Linked DNA regions of Homo sapiens: regions 1, 2 and 4 are each linked to region 3. The links are contacts of gene promoters, found by promoter capture Hi-C in human tissues and cell types (Jung and others, 2019). All regions are on one chromosome and are shown on one strand. The core of a region is centred on a gene start or on the middle of the fragment in contact, and the rest is flanking DNA. Distances in the headings are between cores, read along the strand shown. Region 1 overlaps FAM13A (family with sequence similarity 13 member A). Region 2 has its middle 11 kb from the start of TIGD2. Region 3 holds the start of NAP1L5 (nucleosome assembly protein 1 like 5). Region 4 overlaps FAM13A (family with sequence similarity 13 member A).

Region 1 (5,514 bases), core at 504-3,003, 260 kb before region 3:
GAGTGGCAGAGGCAAGGAGATGCCACGTCCTTTTAAACGACCAGATCTCATGTGAACTCAGAGTGAGAGTTCACTCATCACCAAGGGGATGGCCCAAGCCATTCATGAGGGAACCATCCCCCATGATCAAACACTTCCCACCAAGCCCCACTACCAACACTGGAGATTACATTTCAATATGAGATTTGGGTGGGGACAAATATTCAAACTATATCATTCTGCCCCGGCCCCTCCCAAATCTCATGTCCTTTTCACATTGCAGAATACAATCATGCCTTCCCAATAATTCCCCCAAAGTCTTAACTCATTTCAACATTAACTCAAAAGTCCAAAATCTCATCTGAGACAAGGCATGTCCCTTTCACTTATGAGCTTGTAAAATCAAAAACAAGTTATTTAATTTCAAGATACAATGGGGTATATGCATTAGGTAAACACTACCATTCTAAATGGGAAAAATCAACCAAAAGCAAGTGTGAAATGCAGCAGGGCAGTCATTAAATTGTAAAGTTCCAAAATAATCTCCTTTGACTTCATGTCCCACATCCAGGGCACACTCATGCAAGAGGTGGGATCCTAAGGCCTTGGGCAGCCCTACCCTTTTGGCTTTGCAGGGTACAGCCCCCATGGCTAAACTTACAGGATGTTGAGCATCTGTGGCTTTTCTGCCTTGAGGTTGCAAGCTGCCACTGGATTTACCATTCTGGGATCTGGAGAGTGGTAGCCCTCTTCCCACAGCTGCACTAGACAGTGCCCTAGTGGGGACTCTGTCGGGGGGCTCCAACTCCACGTTTCCCCTCCACACTGTCCTAGTAGAAGTTCTCTCTGAGGGCTCAACCCCTGCAGCGGGCTTCTGCCTGGACAACCAGGCTTTCTCATGCATCCTCTGACATCTAGGCAGAGGCTGCCAGACCTCCTTAACTCTTGTATTCTGTGCACCTGCAGGCTTAACACCACATAGAAGCCACCAAGACTTACAGCTTGCATTCTCTAAAGTGTCAACTCAAGCTATACCTGGGCTCCTTTGAGCTATGGCTGGAGCTGGAGCTGCAGTGGCTGAGATGCAGTGAGCAGTGAGAGGCTCCAAAGTATCAGCTCAAGCTGTACCTGGGCCCCTTTGAGCCAGGGGTGGAGCTGGAGCTGGAGCTGGAGTGGCTGAGATGCAGGCAGCAGTGTCCTGAAGCGGTGCAGGGTAGCAGGGCCCTGGACATGGCCCAGGAAACCATTCTTTTTTCCTAGGCCTCTGGGCCTGTGATGGGAGGGGCTGCCAAGCAGATCTCTGAAGTGCCCTTGAGGCCTTTTGCTCATTGTATCGGCTATTAGCTCTTGGCTCCTTTTAGTCACGCAAATTTCTCTAGCAAGTGGTTGCTCCAAAGCCTGCTTGAATTCTTCTCCTGAAAAAGCTTTTTTTTTTTCCCTCTGACGCTTGGCCAGGCTGCACATTTTCCAAACTTTATGCTCTGCTTCCCTTTTAAATATAAATCCAACTTTTAGTCATTTCTTTGCTCTCACATCTGAGCATAGGTTGTTAGAAATAAGCCACATTTTGAACACTTTGCTGCTTAGAAATTTCTTCCACCAGATACCCTAAATCTTCACTCTAAAGTTCAAACTTCCACAAATTCCCTAAAGCATGAGCAGAGTGCAGCCAAGTTCCTTGCTAACGCATAACATGGGTGACCTTTACTCCAGTTCTCAGTAAGTTCCTCATTTCCATCTGAGATCTCATTTCCCTGACCTTCAACGTCCATATTTCTGTCAGCATTTTGGTCACAACCACTTAACAAATCTCTAAGAAGTTCCATACATTTCCTTGTCTTCCTATCTTCTTCTGTGTCCTCCAAACTCTTCCAACCTCTGCCTGTTACCCAGTTCCAAAGTCACTTCCACATTTTCAGGTGTCTTTAGAGCAATGCCCATCCTTGGTACCAATTTTCTATGTTAGGCTGTTCTTGCATTGCTATAAAGAAATATCCGAGACTCGGTAATTTATGAAGAAAAGAGGTCTAATTGGCTCATCATTCTGCAAGTTCTATAGGAAATATGGTGCTGGCATCAGGTCAGCTTCTAGGGAAGCCTCAGGAAGCTTACCTGGAGAAAGCAGAGGCAAGTGAGAGATGTGGGGTGGGAGGGAGGTGCCACACACTTTTTTTTTTTGAGACAGAGTCTCGCTCTGTCATGCAGGCTGGAGTGCAGTGGTGCAATCTCCTCAGCTCACTGCAACCTCCACCTCCCAGGTTGAAGTGATTCTCCTGCCTCAGCCTCCCTAGTAGATGGGACTGCCGGCATGTGCCTCCATGCCCAGCTAATTTTCATATTTTCAGTAGAGATGGCATTTCACCATGTTAGCCAGGCTGGTCTCCAACTCCTGACCTCAGGCAATCTGCCCACCTCAGCCTTTCAAAGTTCTGGGATTACAGGCGTGAGCCACTGCACCCGACCCACACACTTTTAAATAACTAGATTTCATGTGAACTCAGAATGAGAACTCACTCATCACCCTGGGGATAGCTCAAGCCATTCAAGAGGGAACTGTTCTCATGATCCAAACACCTCCCACCAGGTCCTACCTCCAACATTTGGGGTTATAATTCAACCTGAAATTTGGGCGGGGACAATCCAAACTGTATTATAAGCTCAATATAATCACAAGGGCCATTATAGGTGGCCGGAGAGTCAGATAAGAAGGTGTGTTGTGAGAGGAGGCCACAAGCTAAGGAATGCAGGAGATCTCTAGAAGCTAGAAAGTGAGGGTAACAGATTCTCCCCTAGGAAGGACCTGACCCCTGTTAAGACCTACTTTTTTGGCCTACTGAGACCTACTTTGGACTTCTGGCCTCTAGAACTCCAAGATAATAAATGTGTGTTGTTTTAAGCCACTAAGTTTGTGGTAATTTGTTATATCAGTAATAGAAATCTAGTATAGTGACCTTGGATAAATTCCTTAAGTTCTTTGGTGTTTCTTCATCTTTTTTTAAATAATAGCTTTATTGAAGTATACAGTCATGTTGAGAAATGCGTCATTAGACAATTTCGTACATGCGTGAGCATCACAGAGTATACTTATATTAACCGAGAGGTATAACCTACCCCACACCTAGGCTATATGATATAGTCTATTGCTGCTAGTCTGCAAACATGTGCAGCATGTTACTGTACTGAATACTGTAGGCAATTGTAGTACAATGGTATTTGTTTATCTGAACATATCTAAACTAACAAAAGTACAGAAAAATGTGATATAACAGATTTTAAAAAGGTACACCTACGTCAGGCATCTATCCTGAATGGAGCTTTCAGAACTGGAAGTTGCTCTGAGTGAGTCAATGAGTGAGTGGTGAGTAAAAGGGAAGGCGTAGGACATTACTGTACACTACTGTAGACTTTAAAAAGATGGTACACTTAGGCTATACTAAATATATTTTAAACAATTCTTTCTCCCATAATAAATTAACCTTAACTTACTGTAACTAGTTTACCTTATAAATGTTTAAATTTTTTTTTCCTTGGGGATTAACATTAGGCTCCTTGCTACTTATGCAAAGTTGTGCAGCCTGCTTGAATTTCTCCTCAGAAAATGGGTTTTTCTTTTCTATTGCATCATCAGGCTGCAAATTTCCCAAACTTTTATGCTCTGCTTCCCTTTTAAACATAAGTTCCAATTCCAAACCATCTCTCTCAAGTTCAAAGCTCCACAGACCTCTAGGGCAAGGGCAAAGTGCTGCCAGTCTCTTTGCTAAAGCATGACGAGTCACCTTTGTCCCACTTCCCCCAAAATTCCTCATTTCTATCTGAGACCACCTCAGCCTGGACTTTATTATCCATATCACTATCAGCATTTTGGTCAAAGCCATCCAATAAGTCTCTAGGAAGTTCCAAATTTTCCTACATCTTCCTGTCCTCTGAGCCCTCCAAAGTGTTCCAACCTCTGCCTGTTACCAATTCCAAAGTCACATTCACATTTTTTGGGTATCTTTACAGCAGCGCTCCACTACCCGGTACCAATTTACTGTGTTGGTTTGTTCTCACGCTGCTAATAAAGACATACCCGAGACTGGGTAATTTATAAAGGAAAGAGGTTTAATTGACTCACAGTTCAACATGGCTGGGGAGGCCTCAGGAAACTTACAATCATGGCAGACTATGTGTATTCAGTAGATTATATTGGTTTTCTGAATTTAATTTGAGGTTAATAGAGGTCTTTTCCCTGGTGCTCTGTTGTTATCAAAACTGAAGGGAAATATAACAATATAATAAATAAATATAATGATATTTAATTCTAATTAATACGTAATTCTACATTCTGAAAACAATTCTAAGCATAATAAAAACACATTCTAACTATAATATGGTTAGTTCTAGCCATTAAAAGTACATTCAATCTTAAGAAAATATTTGTGAGAGTTATAAAACGGTGAGGTATGAAGGAAGCTCTATGGAGTTTCTTTAACTGCCCTGACTTGACCTGACAGAGTAATATCCTGATGGGATTAGAATCAAGACAATAACCAGAAAAGAGGGAAATGCTGGTGGTGGGAATAACAAGCAACAACTACTTTTCTTGGAGTTCTCATAACATTTTTTCTTTTTTTTTTTTTTTGAGACGAAGTCTTGCTCTGTCGCCCAGGCTGGAGTACAGTGGCACAATCTCTGCTCACTGCAACCTCTGCCTCCTGGGTTCAAGCGGTTCTCCTGCCTCAGCCTCCTGAGTAGCTGTGATTATAGGCGCGCACCACCATACCTGGCTAATTTTTGAATTTTAAGTAGAGACGAGGTTTTTGCCGTGTTGCCCAGGCTGGTGACGAACTCCTGAGCTCAGGCAATCTGCCCACCTTGGGCCTCCCAAAGTGCTGGGATTACAGGCATGAGCCAGCACTCCTGGCCATTCTCATAGCATTTTGAACATATTTCTGTTTTGTATTCCTATTATTTTTTGTATAGGTGTTTAAGCCTGTTAACATTTATCCTCTTTCTGGCTCCTCCCTTGACCTTATTTGTAAACTTTTTAGGGCAAGAATCTGGTTTACGCATCTTAGAAGTGTCATTGACTAGCCTAGCCTCTAACACTTTGGTTGATTGATAGATGAAAGGACGGATTTATGGATGGATAGATGGCAGTTTACTGCAGAGAAAAGTATTCTAACTCTTTTTGGACAGTAGCATTCTCCTATGCATCTCTGGGCTGCTTTAAAGAGCAGAGTAAGATTGTGATCACAGATTCATTTTCACTTTTGTTAATAAGTATTAAGCTTTTGAAATGAAGAAAATGTTCATTGGATGAAGAATACAGGAGTATATAGCACCTCATATTAATATTATGTGTAGACCAATTAGGTTGTCTTATTTTGGATTATCTCAAGACCTACCTTAACTTAGCTATAAGCAGACCAACTGAATTCATGGAGTCTAACAATTTATTTTTTTTCAGAAGTAAACATACTCACTAAATGTTTATCATTTCCAAACACTTTGGCTCATTTTGGTTTGGGTAGAGGCTGACCAGAATTTTTGCAT
Region 2 (6,037 bases), core at 3,211-5,710, 400 kb before region 3:
CTAGGCTGGGTGCAGTGGCTCACACCTGTAATCCCAGCACTTTGGGAGGCCAAGGCAGTCAGATTGCCTGAGCTTAGGAGTTTGCGACCAGCATGGGCAACACGGTGAAATCCCGTCTTTACTAAAATACAAAAAATCAGCTGGGAGTGGTGGCGTGTGCCTGTAATCTCAGCTACTCAGGAGGCTGAGGCAGGAGAATTGCTTGGACCCGGGAGCCGAGCTCCTGCACTGCTCTCTAGCCTGGGCAATAGAGTGAGACTCTATCTCAAAAAAAAAAAAAAAAAAAGAAAAGAAAAGAAAGGCTCAAATGTGGGTAGCAGAACAGGGATTTGAGCCCAGTTACATTTGGGTTTAAAGCTCCATGCTCTGCCCATGCTATCACAATAGAAGTATTTATGTCAAAGACATGAAAAGAAGAAAAGTATACTGTAATTATTTATTCTTGCAAAATTAAAGTTATTTATTAAAATAGAATATTTAACATGAACTAATAAAAATGGCTTTCTACTCATGAAAGCACTGCAAGTCTGCAATAGTGTTCATTTGCTTCATTGGAATGAGAGTTTTCTGAAAACTATCCCAAATCACCTGAAATTAGATTGTTTCTTATCATTACAAGCCCTAAATTTTCTGCTCTGCTGAGATAATACAGACATACAAATACCTTACATGGACTTTGAATTATTAGTAGTATTCCTTATGCAAGATAGCTTTGTTATAGAATAGGATATCTCTAGGTAGATTTACATTCTTAGTTTTTAAGGGACTCTTTTTTGTTTTTGGTTTCCATTTACTTTATAATTGATTCTCATTCACTTGAAGATTTTTGTTTTATGATACCTAATAAGCTTAAGATGAGGACATGGGCCAGACGTGGTGGCTCATGCCTGTAATCCCAGCACTTTGGGAGGCCAAGGCGGGCAGATCACTTGAGCTCAGGAATATCAGACTGGTCTGGGCAACAAGAGGTGAAGCCCCGCCTCTACAAAAAATACAAAAATTAGCCAGGTGTGGTAGTACATGCTTGTAGTCGAGCTGCTGGGGGGTGCTGAGGTGGGAGGATTGCTTGAGCCCAGGAAGTCTAGGCTGCAGTGAGCCGTGTTCATGCCACCATATTCCAGGCTGGGTGACAAAGTGACACCCTGCCTCAAAAAAAAAAAAAAAAAAAAAAACATGAATTTTTTTTTATCACAATGCTATTATTCTATGTGTAATAAACTTATTTAATATAGAATAGTATTTGCCTTTAGTAACTTAATTATTTAGTGCCAATAATAAATCAGTGGTTTGCACAAAAACCATTTACTGTCACCTACCTTAAGGGACATAAAATATTGAGGGGAATTTTCCAGATAAAATATAATTTATTCCTCTTTTGAAGTATGCAGGGGGATATGGGTCTGTTAGGGCAGTGGTCCCCAACCTTTTTGGCACCAAGGACTGGTTTCATGGAGGACAAACTTTCCACAATGGAGGAGGTGGCGGATGCTTTCAAGATGAAACTGTTCCACCTTAGATCATCAGGCATTAGATTCTCGTAAGGAGCATACAACTAGATCCCTCGCATGCGCAGTTCACAATAGGGTTCGAGCTTCTGTGAGAATCTAATGCTGCTGCTCATATGAAAGGAGGTGGAGCTCAGGCCATAATACTTGCCCATCTGCCACTCACCTCCTGCTGTGCGGCCCAGTTCCTGACAGGCCACCAACCGGACCACACTGGTCTGTAGCCTGGGTGTTGGGGAACCCCATGTTAGGGAAAACAGGATGTGAAACGGTTCTCATCAGTAAAATGAAAGCTTTTCCTTTGACATCTCTTTCAGCTCAAACATTATTTTACTTCATATTATAGACGAACCTTAATTAGAAAATATATATAAAAAATATAAATAGAAAAAGATATCCTTTTGCATAAAGGTAGGGACACTTCTCCACTTGAAAGTGTCTAGACACAAGTGAAAGTTCTGATTACTCACTGGAAAATCCCAGATCATTTTTAAGAAGTTGGTAAGTTACAATACTGAAAGATAGTGAGTTCTGAGACTCTTGAGTCATGTAGATGCCCAGTGGGGAACTTTTAAACTTTGTTTTGTTTTCTTTGTTTCTTGGTTGGCTGGTGGATGGTAGGTTTTCAGATGGCTGGGAGCATAGGCAAAGGTAAGAGAATGAGTTCCCAGGAGGGTAGAAAAGATTTAGTGGGGTTTAAAAAAGAAGTGAAAATTATTGGTGGCGATGCTTAAAGAAAAGTTAGACTCGTTTCCTGAAAATCACTTAGATGTAAATTGAAGAAACCAGTGAATTGGCTGATTGGTATGAGAAATATGAGTAGGAAATGTGAATGAAAATTATATACCCTGCTTACCTTTCCAAGCCTGCCCAATTTCCAACATTCTTTAGAGGAGCCCTCAATTCTGTCCCAGGTTGGTAAGGTCAGGTTAACTGAGAGCCCATTGTGCGTCACACCACTCATTCTCCCTCTCCTCAGCACATGCAGCTTCATAATTTTGAGCTTTTCATGCTTCCCCTTTAGTCTGGGAAGCTTTCTTCTTCCTCTGTACATCCGTACGTCCTTCCAAGTCCTACTTTGTCCCCAAAGCCACATTTATCAAGGTTGCTCTTCAAACCCTGTGGGTTGGAATCACCTGGAGTCCAATATATAGATTTCCTGGGCTCACACTGGGGATGAAGCCCAGGAATCTTTATTTTCAGTGATCATCCCGTGTGATTCTATTACACCAAAGTTTGAAAACCTTTTATGGTTAACAACTGTTTGAATATAAAATTCCTCCCTTATAACATATTCTTTTGGAAGGGAGTTTTTCTTCCTCCTCTTTTTTCTTCTTATTAAATTGTACACAGTCTTTGAAGAACAAGATAAGATACAGAGAAGCAAAAAGGAAAATAATAATGCCAACATATAGAGATAACTATTCTTAACATTTTACTGTATATCCATTACTTTCGTTTATTTGAGACAGAGTTTCGTCCTTGTTGCCCAGGCTGGAGTGCAGTGGTGTGATCTCGGCTCACTGCAAACTCTGCCTCCCAGCTTCAAGTGATTCTCCTGCCTCAGCCTCCTGAGTAGTTGGGATTACAGGCGTCCGCCACCATGCTCAGGTAATTTTTGTGTTTTTAGTAGAGATGGGATTTCACCATGTTGGTCAGGCTGGTCTCGAACTCCTGACCTCAGGTGATCCACCTGCCTTGCTCTCCCAAAGTGCTGAGATTACCGGCATGAGCCACCATGCCCAGCCTCCATTACCTTTCCTATATCAATTTAACTATCCTATAGTCCCACCTTAGCCTCCCGAGTAGCTAGGACTAGAGGCATGCACCACCAGACCAAGCTAATTTTTATTTTTTGTACAGATAGGCTCTTGCTTTGTTGCCCAGGCTGGTCTCGAACTCCTGGCCTCAAGCAGCCCTCCCACCTTGGCCTCCCAAAGTGCTGGGATTTCAGAGCTGATTCACTGTGCTTGGCCCTTTATATATATGTACTTTTATACGTGCTTTTTGCAGTAATGTATTATAAATCTTATATTGTGATTCTCATTAGCCAAATACCACCAAGAACACACTTGTAACCAAAACTAGGCTTACTACTCTAGCAAGGGAGAGTCATACCTTGGAAAACAATGGGTATCGCATTAAGAGGGAGTCAAGAGAGGCTTATTGTAGGATTTGGGCTTAGCTAAGGTGATTTTAGGGAAGGTTCAAGAAAGAATCTGTTCTCAACTGGGTGTTGTCAGAAAGCAGAAGCAATTTGGGTATTGGGTATATTACAAATTTTTATCTAGGAAGCTAGAGGAAGAGAGAGAGGCCAGAGCTGTCACTAGAGAAGTTATCCAGGAGAGCAGGATGTTTGGTTATTTTTGTGGTTACACAGTATTTTTCCCCCATCCCCTTGTTAAATTTCTATTCAAGCAAGATTATGAGGTGATCTTGTTTTTGTCTTGTTTCACCACAGTCATGGCAGGTCCTCCTCTGATGTTGATTTCCACAAAATTATTTAGGTTTCATAGGGTAAATACCATGCCTACCTTGTTCATAGCATTCAACACATTCTCAAAGGATTCATGATCCAAAAAAATTTAATAATCCTTGAACTCATTTAGGCTTACAGCTATTCCTAATTCATTTGATTAGATGTATCAGGACATAATTCTACCTTCGTGAGATTCTCTTATGCTTGAAAAAGACAATTACAGTCATCTATTGCTTAATGATGGGGATGTGTTCAGAGAAATGTGTTTTTAGGCAATTGCATCATTGTGTGAATGTCATAGAGTGTACTCATACAAACCTAGATGGTATAGCCTACCACATACCTAAGTTATATGGTATAATTTGTTGCCTCTGGGCTGTGAACTCTACTGTACTGTACAAATCCTGTAGGCAGTTGTAACACAATGTTAACTAGTTGTGTGTCTAAATATATCTAAACGTAGAAAAAGTACAGTGAAAATATGATATTATAATCTTATGGGACCACCATCATATACTCAGTCTGTCATTGACTGAAATGTCATTATGTGACCCATAACTATATTAACACCTGGCTTGAATGCTTGTCCATCCAAATAATCCCTTCAATGCTTCATGATAGTGTTTCTTAAACTCCAATCAATTTTAGACAGGTTTCTCAACTTTTCTTCACTTATACAAATCCTGTACCATTAGCAGTAATACCCCATTGTCCCCAACACTCCCTTCTGCTCTTGACAACCACTAACCTACTTTATGTCTCTATTTTAGTTATTTTATATAAACGGAATCATATAATATGTGTCCTTCATTTAGCATGTTTTCAAGGTTCATCATTTTATAGCATGTATCAGTATATCATTTTCTTTTACTGCTGAATAATATTCCACTATATGGATAGATCACATTTTATGTATTCCTTCATCAGTTGCTTGGTTTCTGCTGTTTGTCTATGAACATTCATGTACCAGTTTTTGTGTGGACATATGTCTTCATTTCTCTTGGGTATATAACTATGACTAAAATTGCTTGATCATATGGTAACTGTCTGTTTAATCTCCTAAGGAAATATTTTCTAAAGCAGCTAGATTATTTTACAAAAAATGTATGAGGCTTCCAAATTCTCCACATTCTCACCAATACTTGTTATTATCTGTCTTTTTTATTATAACCATCCCAGTGGGTGTGAAGTAGTATCTCACTGTGGTTTTGATTTGCATTTCCCTGGTGGCTAATTATATTGAGCTTCATGTCATGTGCTTATTGACCATATGCATGTCTTTTTTTGGAGAAATGTCTCTTCAGGTCCTTTACCTGGTTTTTATTTGGGTTGTAATAGTTCTATGTTAAATGTTGCAATTTACTGTTTCCCTATTGGCTTTCTTAGAGGGGAAGCATAAGAAATAAACTTTTGAGAATTATCTCTGTATTTAGCCCAACTGATGTTGAACATACTGCTCATGATGTACTCTATCATTTTATTTCAGGATTTATTTGATAAAGTCTGGCTATATTTAATGAAAAAATATGACCAGATGAAATTTGACTTCTTTTGTCTGACACAAGAACTAGATATGTCCATTTTAACATTGACTTCTATAAATCTGTATGCTTTATTTTGTGTTTACTTGCTCTATTAATTCACCTTGAATTCTTACCACTTTTCTTCTCCTATCCATTAAGTTCTATTTTAAGTATGTTTTAATGGTGAGTCTCTTTTTATATTATAATTATCTTGACCATTGTTTGGAAACATGTAGCGTAAACTAAAATTAAGAGACTTGACAGGCAGTGCATCTTAGTGATAAAGCTTATGGTTCCTGAAACAGTCTTTGGTTTGTACTTCTGACTGCCACCTACCACCTATGGAACTTTGGGCTGGCTATATAAAATCTTTCACTTATGGAAAATGGGAATAAAGATCATACTGATTTTTTTTTTGTTTTTGAAGAATGAACTGAAATGGTATGTATACATTGTTTTGCAGAGTGTCCAACACATAATAAGCACTAATACTAGCTATGATTTTATTATTTCCTAGATCTTCCAACCTG
Region 3 (5,887 bases), core at 388-2,887:
TAAGAAGATGGTGAGCAGGGTAAAGAAGACGGTTGGGGGAAGGTGGTGAAGACCGTGGGGGAAGGTGGGGAAGAAGACAGATCGTGGGGAAGAAGATGGTGGGCAGGGTGGGGAAGAAGAGGGTGGGGCTGCGTGGGTGGGTGGGGAGGAAGAGGGTGGGGCTGGGTGGGTGGGTGGGGAAGAAGAAGGCGGGGCTGGGGGTGGGTGGGAAGAGGGTGGGGCTAGGGGGTGGGGAAGAAGAGGGTGAAGAGGGTGAGGAAGAAGAGGGTGAGGAGCGTGAGGAAGAAGAGGGTGAAGAGGGTGAGGAAGAAGAGGGTGAGGAGCGTGAGGAAGAAGAGGGTGAAGAGGGTGAGGAAGAAGAGGGTGAGGAGCGTGAGGAAGAAGAGGGTGAAGAGGGTGAGGAAGAAGAGGGTGAGGAGCGTGAGGAAGAAGAGGGTGAAGAGGGTGAGGAAGAAGAGGGTGAGGAGCGTGAGGAAAAAGTTCGGTGGGGGGAAGGTGAGGAAGAAGGCAGTGGGTGAGGAAGAAGGGGGTGAGGAGGGTGAGGAAGGTGGGGAAGAAGAGGGTAAGGAGGGTGGGGAAGAAGAGGGTGAGGAAGGTGGGGAAAAGGACAGTGCGGCGGGGGGAAGGTGAGGAAGGAGGCAGTGAGTGGGGAAGAAGGCGGGGAAGAAGATGGGCAGAAGGTGGGGCATAAGTCAGTGCGGGGGAGGGGCAGGAGGGAGGGAGAAGATGTGGTGTGGAAAGGTGTGAAAACAGATAGTGGGGAAGGCAGGGAAGCAGACGGTGTTGGGGGAAGGCAGGGAAGACGAATGTGAGCGGGGTGGGATAGATGGCACATGCTTTAACCAAGATAAGAGGGGGCCTTGGCCCTGGGCCCCATGCTTTAGAAAGACTTGCTTTTTTTCAGCCCTCCTCAAGCTTTAGTCCTTCCCACAGGCCAAAGATTCTGTAGGATCTTCTAGAACACACACCAGGACACCGGGAGCTCTGAGATTTCCTACCCAAATGGCTCCAAAACTGCTTCCAGGGGAGTCCTGCTGAGAGACGACCTTGCCACCAAGATATATGCCGCTAGGTGTGTGGGATGGCCAAGGGGGTGTTGGGTGGACACATAGGTACAGAGCTTGGATATGCAAGCTGCCCTATCCACACACATGCACCCCAGGTCCCCAAAGGGGTGGAATGGAGCCAGCTTGCCCGTTCCTCCACTGCATGGAGAGGAATGCGGAGGAATCTAAGAGGTGATCAAACGCCAGCTATGGAGAGAGATGCAGAGGAAAGCGAAGACATATGCACTGGCATTTGTAGAAGGGCCTGGATGGGGGTGAGGAGCACACGGAAAATGGTCTGAGGCCATCTATGCAGTTCCTGAAGAAGCACCTCGGGCAGCTACTGACACTCCCAGCCCAGCTCTACAGGGGTGGGTACATGGGTGGGCTGGGAACAGGGTGTCTGTCCAACAGGCGGGTGTTGAGGGCCCAGAAGATGTCAGGGTAGCAACAGGAGGAATCTGGTGCAGTATGAGCACACGGCCGTCAGCTGATAGTGGGAAGCCAGTCAAGTGCCGCGAAAGCAGGAGGCGGGGCCGCGGCCAACGTCATTCCCGCGGCCGCACGTCACCGCCACTTGCCGCATCCGCAAGATCTCTCTGGACCAGCTCGGGTGCAGGGCCTCTGCGGGAGCCCTCCTAGACCTCTGCGGCTTCTCCTCTAACATGGCCGACTCGGAAAACCAGGGGCCTGCGGAGCCTAGCCAGGCGGCGGCAGCGGCGGAGGCAGCGGCAGAGGAGGTAATGGCGGAAGGCGGTGCGCAGGGTGGAGACTGTGACAGCGCGGCTGGTGACCCTGACAGCGCGGCTGGTCAGATGGCTGAGGAGCCCCAGACCCCTGCAGAGAATGCCCCAAAGCCGAAAAATGACTTTATCGAGAGCCTGCCTAATTCGGTGAAATGCCGAGTCCTGGCCCTCAAAAAGCTGCAGAAGCGATGCGATAAGATAGAAGCCAAATTTGATAAGGAATTTCAGGCTCTGGAAAAAAAGTATAATGACATCTATAAGCCCCTACTCGCCAAGATCCAAGAGCTCACCGGCGAGATGGAGGGGTGTGCATGGACCTTGGAGGGGGAGGAGGAGGAGGAAGAGGAGTACGAGGATGACGAGGAGGAGGGGGAAGACGAGGAGGAGGAGGAGGCTGCGGCAGAGGCTGCCGCGGGGGCCAAACATGACGATGCCCACGCCGAGATGCCTGATGACGCCAAGAAGTAAGGGGGGCAGAGATGGATGAAGAGAAAGCCCACGAAGAAAAAAGCCTGGTTTTGTTTTTCCCAGAATATCGATGGACTTAAAAAGGCTCAGGTTTTTGACCAAAATACAATGTGAATTTATTCTGACATTCCTAAAATAGATTAAATTAAAGCAATTAGATCCTGGCCAGCTCGATTCAAATTTGACTTTCATTTTGAACATAATAAATATATCAAAAGGTGTTAAAGAAAACTGAATTAAACCCAAAATTATGTTTTCATGGTCTCTTCTCTGAGGATTGAGGTTTACAAAGGGTGTTAGCAGATGCGAAGTAAAGAACGTCACTTTGAAACCCATTCATCACACAGCATACGCTACACATGGAACACCCAAGCCATGACTGAACACGTTCTCAGTGCTTAATTCTTAAATTTCTTTACTCATGACATTTCGCAGTGCAGAGAAGGCAGAACCCAAGAAAAACGTCATCTTTGAGACTTTGCTTTTGTAACGCAGACATCAGCTTTACACTTCACAGGAGATTGATGGCATTGAGGAAGATTGCAATGGAGATCATGACACTACTGTTAATAAGGCCAGGAAAACTGCCATTTCAAGTTCTGAAAAATGTTTTGAGTATTTGAATTTAGAGAAACAACATGGTTCCAAGAAGGAGGGTGTAAAACCTGTAAAATACTGTCAACATATGTATTCATTAGTTACAATCTCATGTTTGTGTTTTCTTAGTACTGTCTATTTACAAACACGTAAAAAATACCCCAAATATGTTTAAGTATTAAATCACTTTACCTAGCGTTTTAGAAATATTAATTTACTTGAAGAGATGTAGAATGTAGCAAATTATGTAAAGCATGTGTATCCAGCGTTATGTACTTTGCGCCTTGTGACGTCTTTCTGTCATGTAGCTTTTAGGGTGTAGCTGTGAAAATCATCAGAACTCTTCACTGAAGCTAATGTTTGGAAAAAATATATACTTGAAGAACCAATCCAAGTGTGTGCCCCTACCCCCAGCTCAGAAGTAGAAAGGGTTTAAGTTTGCTTGTATTAGCTGTGCCTTCATTATTTTGCTATGTAAATGTGACATATTAATTATAAAATGGTGCATAATCAAATTTTACTGCTTGAGGACAGATGCATACAGTAAGGATTTTTAGGAAGAATATATTTAATGTAAAGACTCTTAGCTTCTGTGTGGGTTTTGAATTATGTGTGAGCCAGTGATCTATAAAGAAACATAAGCTTAAAGTTGTTTATCACTGTGGTGTTAATAAAACAGTATTTTCAAAAAATATATATAAAAGACTCGGTACTGTGACTGCCTGCATTCAAATCCCAGCTCTGCCTCCTATTAGTAATGTACCTTAGGCAACTCAGCTAATACTCTCAGTGGCCAGTTTCTCCTCATCTACAAAAGGGAATAGGAATAGTCCCTTCCTCATGGGTTACTATGAAGAGCAAATGGATTAATACATATAAATCCTATAGAATAGCATCCAAACCATGGTAAGTGCTGAATAATTCTTAGCTATTATTATTACATGAAAGATAAAGACAGTGATTGGAAATTCAATCCTCCTCTCCTGTTACAAAATGGGAGAAAGAGACATCACTACATCCCTCCCTATGTTTTTGATTCCTTATTATGAGAGAAGAATGTGGCCTTTAATTCAGAAATGCAGGAAATTAAATAAACTATCTTGTTTTGGTTTCCTCAATATAATATCAGGTTTTTATCATCTCCCAGAAAGGATAAAAAAGGCTATTTCAACTTTATGTTTGCTTCATTCTGAATGAAGCAGAAAGTTTTTTTTAAAAACTGGACTCCAGAAAAATTAAAAAATCAGATGCCATTTGCTTCCTTTTCCCTGAAGGGTTAAAATTACAAAGAAGCAAAATTATATTGCTTTATCCTAGGGAATGGAAGGCAGCACTGACCTGTTGCTAATCACAACAGATTGTTGAGTACAAACAACCTTAAGGTAAAGTTAATCTTCATTATGCTCAGGCCAACCAAAAGAGAAAATCAGAATAATACGTTACATACAAAGTTCTGATTATCTTAATCATATGATTATCTTAATAGAGAAAAAATCTAATAAAATTTAATATTGATTTCTTATATCCAGGAATGAGAGAGACTATCATTTTACTATTTTTCTGGTTCCAGTAAAAAGCAAAAACGATTGAAACACAACTAAGAGGCATAAGTATTGGGAAATGTTTTTTACATATAGAAAACCCAAGAGAATCAACTGGAAAACAATTCAATTTAATAAGTTTGATGAACTGACCAGTTATCAGATAAATACACAAAAACCAATAACCATTTATAGGCACTAATAATGATCAAAATATATGTGAAAGGCTCTCAGAGTAAAAATAAGAAATCAAAACATTTATAAAACCTCTAATAAGAAATGTGTATGACCTATGTAAAAATAAAAAACAAACATAACATAAGCCTTTGGATAGTAAGACTGAATATCACAAAAACGTCAGTTCTTCCCAAATTAACTTTTATCACAATTCTAATCAAAACTCAAACTGGATCTGGAACCTAATATAATTACCATAATGTTCACCTTAAGAACAGCTAAGAAAACCTTTAGCAATTTGGAAACAGTTTAGATTTTTACCTCAGACTACAGACTAACTGAAGAAAATATATTAAATATCAATTACTGGACAGGGAATGGCTAGGATTAGAGTGGTATAAGACCAAAAGAAATAACACACATGACAACACAAAAATTAAGAAATCACAGAGTTAAAGACACACTCTACATTTTCAAAACCAAAAACAGAGGATAAAACCTACAATAAATATGGATGGCAAAGGGTTAATAGTCATAAACATAATGAAGAGTTCCTATGAATCATATGAAAATTATTAAGTCCTACTAGAGAAATACATAAAGGACATCAGCAGAGTCTCTAAAAAGAGGAAAGACTGCAAACCCTGCCTGAGGCAGAAAGAACTCACCTAATGCTGCGTGTTCCTGAACCTGCAGCACTAGGTGAGCCGGGGCTCTGGCAGGGTCTAGAGACAAGTGTTCCTAGCTATGTGCTCTGGCCAGCAATCTTTCTTTTGTTTATGATAAGATTTTAGCTGTGGGGTTTTCTAGCTTAGAGAATTGTTGGCCACTTCTCTAAGGATACAGGGATGTTTGTGACGTCAAGCGATTTCTGCCACTTCCTAACTGGGCTAATCTTTATATTGTTTCCTGGACTGCTTATTTGATAGTTTCTCTGGCAACCCTAAAACCTGCATGTTAACATCTAACAGGATACCCTTGCTTCAAGGTAGGTCAAACACTATCATTCATAAACCATTTTAACCTATTATAGGCCAAAATTAGTCAACAAAGCACAAAATAACTGGCAGAAAGAAAGGAAGCATGCAATACACACTCAACCAACTCTCTGAGTATTACGCAGAAAACTGGCATGCCGATGCTTACTGTGAAAAATGGCATGGCAGCTCTCTCTGCCTGAGAATGTACACTCAATGCATACACATAGACACATTTACACATATACACACATGTACACACTTTATTGAGGTGAAATTTGCATAACATAAAATTAACCATTTTAAAGGGAACAATTCAGTGGCGTTTTGTACAT
Region 4 (5,755 bases), core at 2,322-4,821, 290 kb before region 3:
GTGGTTGTCTTCGCCATTTGGCATATGGTTGAGTTCACTTGTTTCAATCCATTTCCAATTTTAGAATGCAGAGCTTCTTTTCCTTTTCAATGTAATTTTGTTTAAATTTTTATAACACTTACGTGGCTTAAAAGTGAAAATTGGTCGGGCGCGGTGGCTCATGCCTGTAATCCCACCACTTTGGGAGGCTGAGGCAGGCGGATCACTTGAGGTCAGGAGTTCAAGACCAGCCTGGCCAACATGGTGAAACCACATCTCTACTAAAAATACAAAAATTAGCCAGGTGTGGTGGCAGATGCCTGTAATCACAGCTACTTGAGAGGCTGAGGCATGAGAGTCACTTGAACCCGGGAGGTGGAGGTTGCAGTAAGCTGATATTGTGCCACTGCACTCCAGCCTGGGAGATAGGGTGAGACTCAATCTCAAAAAAAAAAAAAAAGTGAAAATTATGTAAAGAGAAAGAGGTTTACTCAGAAGTTTCCCTTTTATCATTATTCTTTCTATACTGTTCAACCTCTTGGTGTCTTTGGAAAACATTTTTATTAGTTTCTGGCTTATCCTTCAATGTTTCTTTTGGTAAAAATAAGTGTGTATATGTAGTTACATTTTGTGTATTATGTGATGTCTATATGTGTGCATTCTTATTTCTATGTGTTCCTTACACTGTTCTTCACTTTGCTTTTTATCTGCAAATCTTAGAGATCATTCCAACAGTTTTTTTTTTTTTATTCTTTTTTGTGCTTGTGTATTACTTCATTGCTTGGACAAAGTAAGTTTTAGTCAATGGTACTTTTCTGATGGTCGTTTGTTTCCCATCTTTTACTGTTAGATATGATCCCACATCAAATAAACTTGTGCATATGTATCACCAAGATTAATTCCTAAATATGAGATTTTTGGGTCAAAGAACAAATGCCTCTATATCATTAGATAGCCCTAATTCCCCTCCACAGAGGATGAGTCAGTGTTACATGTCTGTTAGCAGCATGCAAGAGTGTCCATTTTTCAGTCTTGCCAAGAGGATTTCGCAAAAATTTTGAAGTCTTGCCAGTCTGATAGGTCAGATGTGATATCCCAGTGTGGATTTTTTAAGTTTTAAGAGTTTTATTGAGACACCGTTTATATACCGTACAATTTGCCATGTGAAGTATATAATTTGTTGGTTTTGAATAGATACAGAATTCTGTAACCATCACCACGGTCACTTATAGAATATTTTCATCACCCCCAAAAGAAATGCTGTACTGTTAGCAGTCACTTCCCATTTCTTCCCAATCACTCCCCACAACAACCTGGCTCTAGGCAACCACTCATCTACTTTCTGTGTCTAGAGAGTTGCCTATTCTGGACATTTCATATAAATGTAATCATACAATATGTGTTCTTTTCTGACTGGACTCTTTCACTTAGCAAAATGTTTTCAAGGCTCATCCATTTTGTAGCATGTGTCAGTACATCATTCCTTTTATGGCAGAATAATATTTCAGTGTAGAGACACACCAGTTGATGTGTTTATCAACTCATTAGTTGGTGGGTATTTGTGTTACTTCTAGTTTCTGGCTATTTCGAATGATGCTGCTGTGAACATTTGTGTACATGTCATGTGTAGAATTATGTGTTCATTTCTCTTGGGTATATAACTAGGAGTAGAATTGTTGGGTCTCATGGTAACTGTTTAAAATTTTGAGGAACTACCAAAATGTTTACTGAAGTGGCTGCACCATTTTACATTCCCTCATGCATTTGTTCCCTCATATATTCCCATCAGCAATGGGATGTGCTTATCATGCAAAAAGAGACTAATATAAAATAAATATTCAAAGAAAAATAAAACCTGAGGACCTAATAGGAAAATGGCAAAAGACAAAAATATATGAAGAGAAAGACACATGGCCATGTACATTCCCATCAGCAATGTATGGGCGAACCAGTTTCTCTACATCCTTGTTAATATCTTTTTTATTCCATTCCTGTGGGTATGAAACACTATTTCATTTTGGTTTTGATTTGCATTTCCCTGATTACTAATGACATTGAATATTTTCATGTGCTTATTGGCCATTTGTATATTTTTGGAGAAATGTTTATTCAGATCTTCTGCCTATTTTTAAGTTGATTTATTTGTCTTTATTGATGAGTTATAAGAGTTGTTTATATACTTTGCATATAAATTCCTTATCAGGTACAGGACTTGTAAATATTTTCTTCTATTCTATAAGTTGCCTTTTCATTTTCTTGATCATGTCCTTTTAAGTGCAGAGGTTTTTATTTTTGATGGAGTGCAATGTATCTGTTTTTTCTTTTGTCACTTATGCTTTTTGTGTTGTACCTGAGAAAGTTTTGGCTAACCAAGATCATGAAGATTTATTCATCTTCTAAGAGTTTTTTAGTTATGACTGTTATGTTTAGGTCTATGGAGCTATTTTGGAGTTAACTTTTGTGAATGGTATAAAGGAGTCTAACTTCATTCCTCTGCATGTGGCTGTCCAGTTGTCCCAGCATCATTTGTTGAAGATTGTTTTTCCCCATTGAATTATCTCAGCACTCTTGTCAAAAATAAGTTGACCACAATTATTGGGGCTTATATCTGAACTCATAGTTATATTCCATTGATCTGTATATCTATTCTTATGTCAGTACCATAGTATTTTGATAATTCTATAGCTTTTTAATGAGTTTTAAAATCATGAAGTTTCAATACTCCAAGTTTGTTCTTCTTTTCAGAATTATTTTGACTAGTCTAGGTTCATTGTATTTCTCTACAAATTTTAGGATCAGTTTGTAAATTTCTACAAAAAAGTTAGTCAATATTTTGATAGGATGTTCTGTTGAATCTGGAGACCAATTTGGAGAGGACTCTATTGCCATTTTAGCAAAATTAAATCTCCCAATATGTGAGCATGAAATATTTTTCCATTTACTTAGGTCTTTAATTTGTTTCAATACTGTTTTATGGTTTTCAGGGTACAAGTTTTGCAATTATTTTGTTAAATCTATTATCAAGTATCTTTTTCTTTTAGATGCTATTCTAGATGTAATTGTTTTCTCAGTTTTATTTTCAGATTGCTCATTGCTAATACCAATATAGTTTTAATTTGCATGTGTTTTCTTATAAATGAAACTAAACATTTTTACTTGTGTTTAAGGGCCATCTGTCTTTTTCCTCATATACCTGTTTGTATCTTTTGCCATTTTCCTATTAGGTGCTCAGGTTTTATTTTTCCTTGTTGAATACTTATTTTGTTTATTTTTAGTCTCTTTTATCCATCATAATCACACTTAAAACTCTAATTTTCCTCTCAGTATTACTTTGTCTCCTCATTTTCACTATTATTTTACCACTTGATATAATAGGTTGGGTTATCCAAGGTATAACTCTGAGACTAAGTTTTCAAGCAGAAGTTTTATTGGGTAGTACTTTTTGGAACCATTCTTTCCTTATACCTATAAGGAACAGAGGAAGGTAGGATTAGGCAGAAGTTGAACTGCCATCAAGTTGTAACACAGGATTCACTCAGTCCCAGGGGAGCTGAGAAGATGGGATGACCTTTCAGATAAATCCCTAGTTGAGTCAAAGGGTTTAGTCTCCTTACCCCATTTCCATCAATCACTGGAGGTGAGCTGTGCCAGGGACATTGTGTAGTCTCAGAAGAAGGACTTAGCCATGAGCCATAAGCAGGCAACACTTTGAGTGAGATTGGGTGGATAATGAATACTTCTGGCATGAAGGAGACACCTGGGCATCACCTCACAGAGTCACTACATAAATATTTTCTTTTAAAAATTCATTAAACCTTGGACTGTGAGCTATATATGTTGTATATGATTTTTCTAAGGAAATCCCCAATATCCCAGTTTCTAAGGCAAAAGTCCTCTGAATACTTTATCATTCTTAGAAATTAGCAGGAATTGCTTCTGTAAGTTTTGATAGTTATTAAAATGAGTATTGGATTTTCAGTGGTTTGGATAGCATGACGTATAAAAGGAAGTTAGTCTAGTTCTTATTCTGCCCATTAGTAGTCCTTATTCTACTAATGCAGGTAGATTTGGCCTGCATTATTTTCCTGTTAAATTTTTGTAAAACAGGACCCACAGAGTTTGCTTTGAAATTTAAGTGAGACTGTAAGAGAAAGTCCTCATACATTGTAAGCAATTGGCAGAGTTAGAATCCATGTGCATTTAATTAAATACATTTAAAATTGCATTAAGGGAAAGATCAGGTTTTATGGGCTCTGCCCATCGTACTAGTTAATGAACTGGGCTCTTTAGAAACATGAGATGGAAGACATGACATTGCTCTTAACCTCAGTTGTCATAGTTCTCACTTAGAACAAGCTTCTTACAGTATTGAGTATGCTTGTTAATATTTAATGGAATAGAAAATGTTCTTACCCAGTAAAATTTCTCAACACAAGCCAACTTCTTCAACTTAGTACTTGTATCAGACACCTTCTGACCTCCTCAGATTGCCTTGGCTCTACCCGCCTCTCAGACCAATCTGCTTCCACCAGGCTTGGACCTTTCTCCTGCCTTGGGAATGCTAGATTCTTCTTCTTGGCTTCTGCCTTATAGCTGGGTCAACAAGCCACCTGCTCAGAGTTTCTGGCTTCTGCCATCACTTTTGAACCCTAGACTCGGATCTTAATTCCTGATAGGGTATCAGAGGCATGGGATATGGCAACCTGGAAATCTAGAACAGTTAAATAAGAGTCAGGAAGAGACATGGACTTTTTTTGTTCTTCCCATGGAACACATTTCTTCATCCCATGGCTTCTCCTTGCAGCTTATCTGGGGAATTCCAGACTGCCAAGCAAAGCATCTGTCGAGCAAACTGTTATGTGTCTTTGTAGTTCTTTGTGAAAGAGCTATGCATACTTTACATTATTTCATATCCCTGCTTGCCTCCTTTTCTCACCCACCCTGCCTGGTATCCCTGCTGTCAAAATAATACACCAACATCCTCATCATTGCCTTGTTTTCTTTGGGTTTCTTGAGGATCTGCTCTAAGGCACTGTGTACCTAGTGATGTAGCAGACAGTTCTAATACATTAGGAAAATCTATTTTCTTAAGATTAGGTGAGAGATTTTATACTTTAAGAATATTTAAGGATAACATTGGGTATGCATGAGATTCATTATATTAGAAATACCTAAATATTTTTTATTTGCCGTTGTTTAGAGTGTATTTAAAAATCTGATTAAGTGATATTGATGCACGGACCAAAGCCTCGGCTTTTGGTTCTGGGTTTTTTGTTTGTCTGTTAGTATTCTTGGCACTTTGCATTAAACTCATTGTGCACACTTAGTTTGTACAATTTGATAACATGTATGTCTTTAATTTCTAATAATTAAATTTGCTATTGCTACTGATGAGTAAGTCATTTTGGTCAAATTTTGCTTCATATCTCTGCGTCTTGTGCCTTTCGTCTATAGATAGGTAAATTAATTCTATTCCTTGAAACAAGTGTTTCAGTACTAACCAATAAGATAAAAATAATTTTGTAGGTATTCCTGAAACTTTCAAAGATAAATCAGTTTCATATTTTGAATGATAAGCCCTTCCACTTATTCTTCTATCCAAGATGTTACATTTTTTCTTAGTGGCAGCACCAAAAATGTTTAAAACTGCTATTGGTCTTCAAATCTTGCAGAAAAACAACACAATAAGTTAGAGTTTAATTTACTGGTATAATATTTACACCATTAAATATTAAATGATATCAGCTAAATTTGTAGACACGAACATGATGTATAA

The links. Contacts are between HindIII fragments. The study calls those that stand out against the background at their distance.
Region 1: a fragment that was not itself captured here is called in contact with the fragment with the promoter of NAP1L5 in region 3 in 1 of the 25 tissues and cell types used here (pancreas).
Region 2: a fragment that was not itself captured here is called in contact with the fragment with the promoter of NAP1L5 in region 3 in 2 of the 25 tissues and cell types used here (IMR-90 fibroblasts and dorsolateral prefrontal cortex).
Region 4: a contact is called between a fragment that was not itself captured here and the fragment with the promoter of NAP1L5 in region 3, in 1 of the 25 tissues and cell types used here (mesenchymal stem cells).

Annotation. Positions count from the first base shown.
Region 1 is chr4:88,953,972-88,959,485 of GRCh38, reverse strand. The region is part of intron 4 of FAM13A (family with sequence similarity 13 member A); the gene reads left to right. LOC105377327 (a long non-coding RNA gene) reads right to left here. Exons shown (of 4, transcript XR_938977.3): 4 at 1-2,091. Among named protein-coding and RNA genes, the nearest start is that of FAM13A, 100 kb to the left of the region's middle. The HindIII fragment of the contact is 3,831 bases long and covers 1-3,668 here.
Region 2 is chr4:89,097,476-89,103,512 of GRCh38, reverse strand. No RefSeq gene overlaps it. Among named protein-coding and RNA genes, the nearest start is that of TIGD2, 11 kb to the left of the region's middle. RefSeq lists enhancers at 1,742-1,891, 2,002-2,241. The HindIII fragment of the contact is 6,274 bases long and covers 1,324-6,037 here.
Region 3 is chr4:88,693,579-88,699,465 of GRCh38, reverse strand. NAP1L5 (nucleosome assembly protein 1 like 5) reads left to right here and starts at 1,637. Exons shown (of 1, transcript NM_153757.4): 1 at 1,637-3,553. The coding sequence starts at 1,712. The coding sequence ends at 2,260. The region is part of intron 23 of HERC3 (HECT and RLD domain containing E3 ubiquitin protein ligase 3); the gene reads right to left. RefSeq lists an enhancer at 1,488-1,547. The HindIII fragment of the contact is 8,909 bases long and covers 1-5,887 here.
Region 4 is chr4:88,980,821-88,986,575 of GRCh38, reverse strand. The region is part of intron 4 of FAM13A (family with sequence similarity 13 member A); the gene reads left to right. Among named protein-coding and RNA genes, the nearest start is that of FAM13A, 73 kb to the left of the region's middle. The HindIII fragment of the contact is 4,885 bases long and covers 1,129-5,755 here.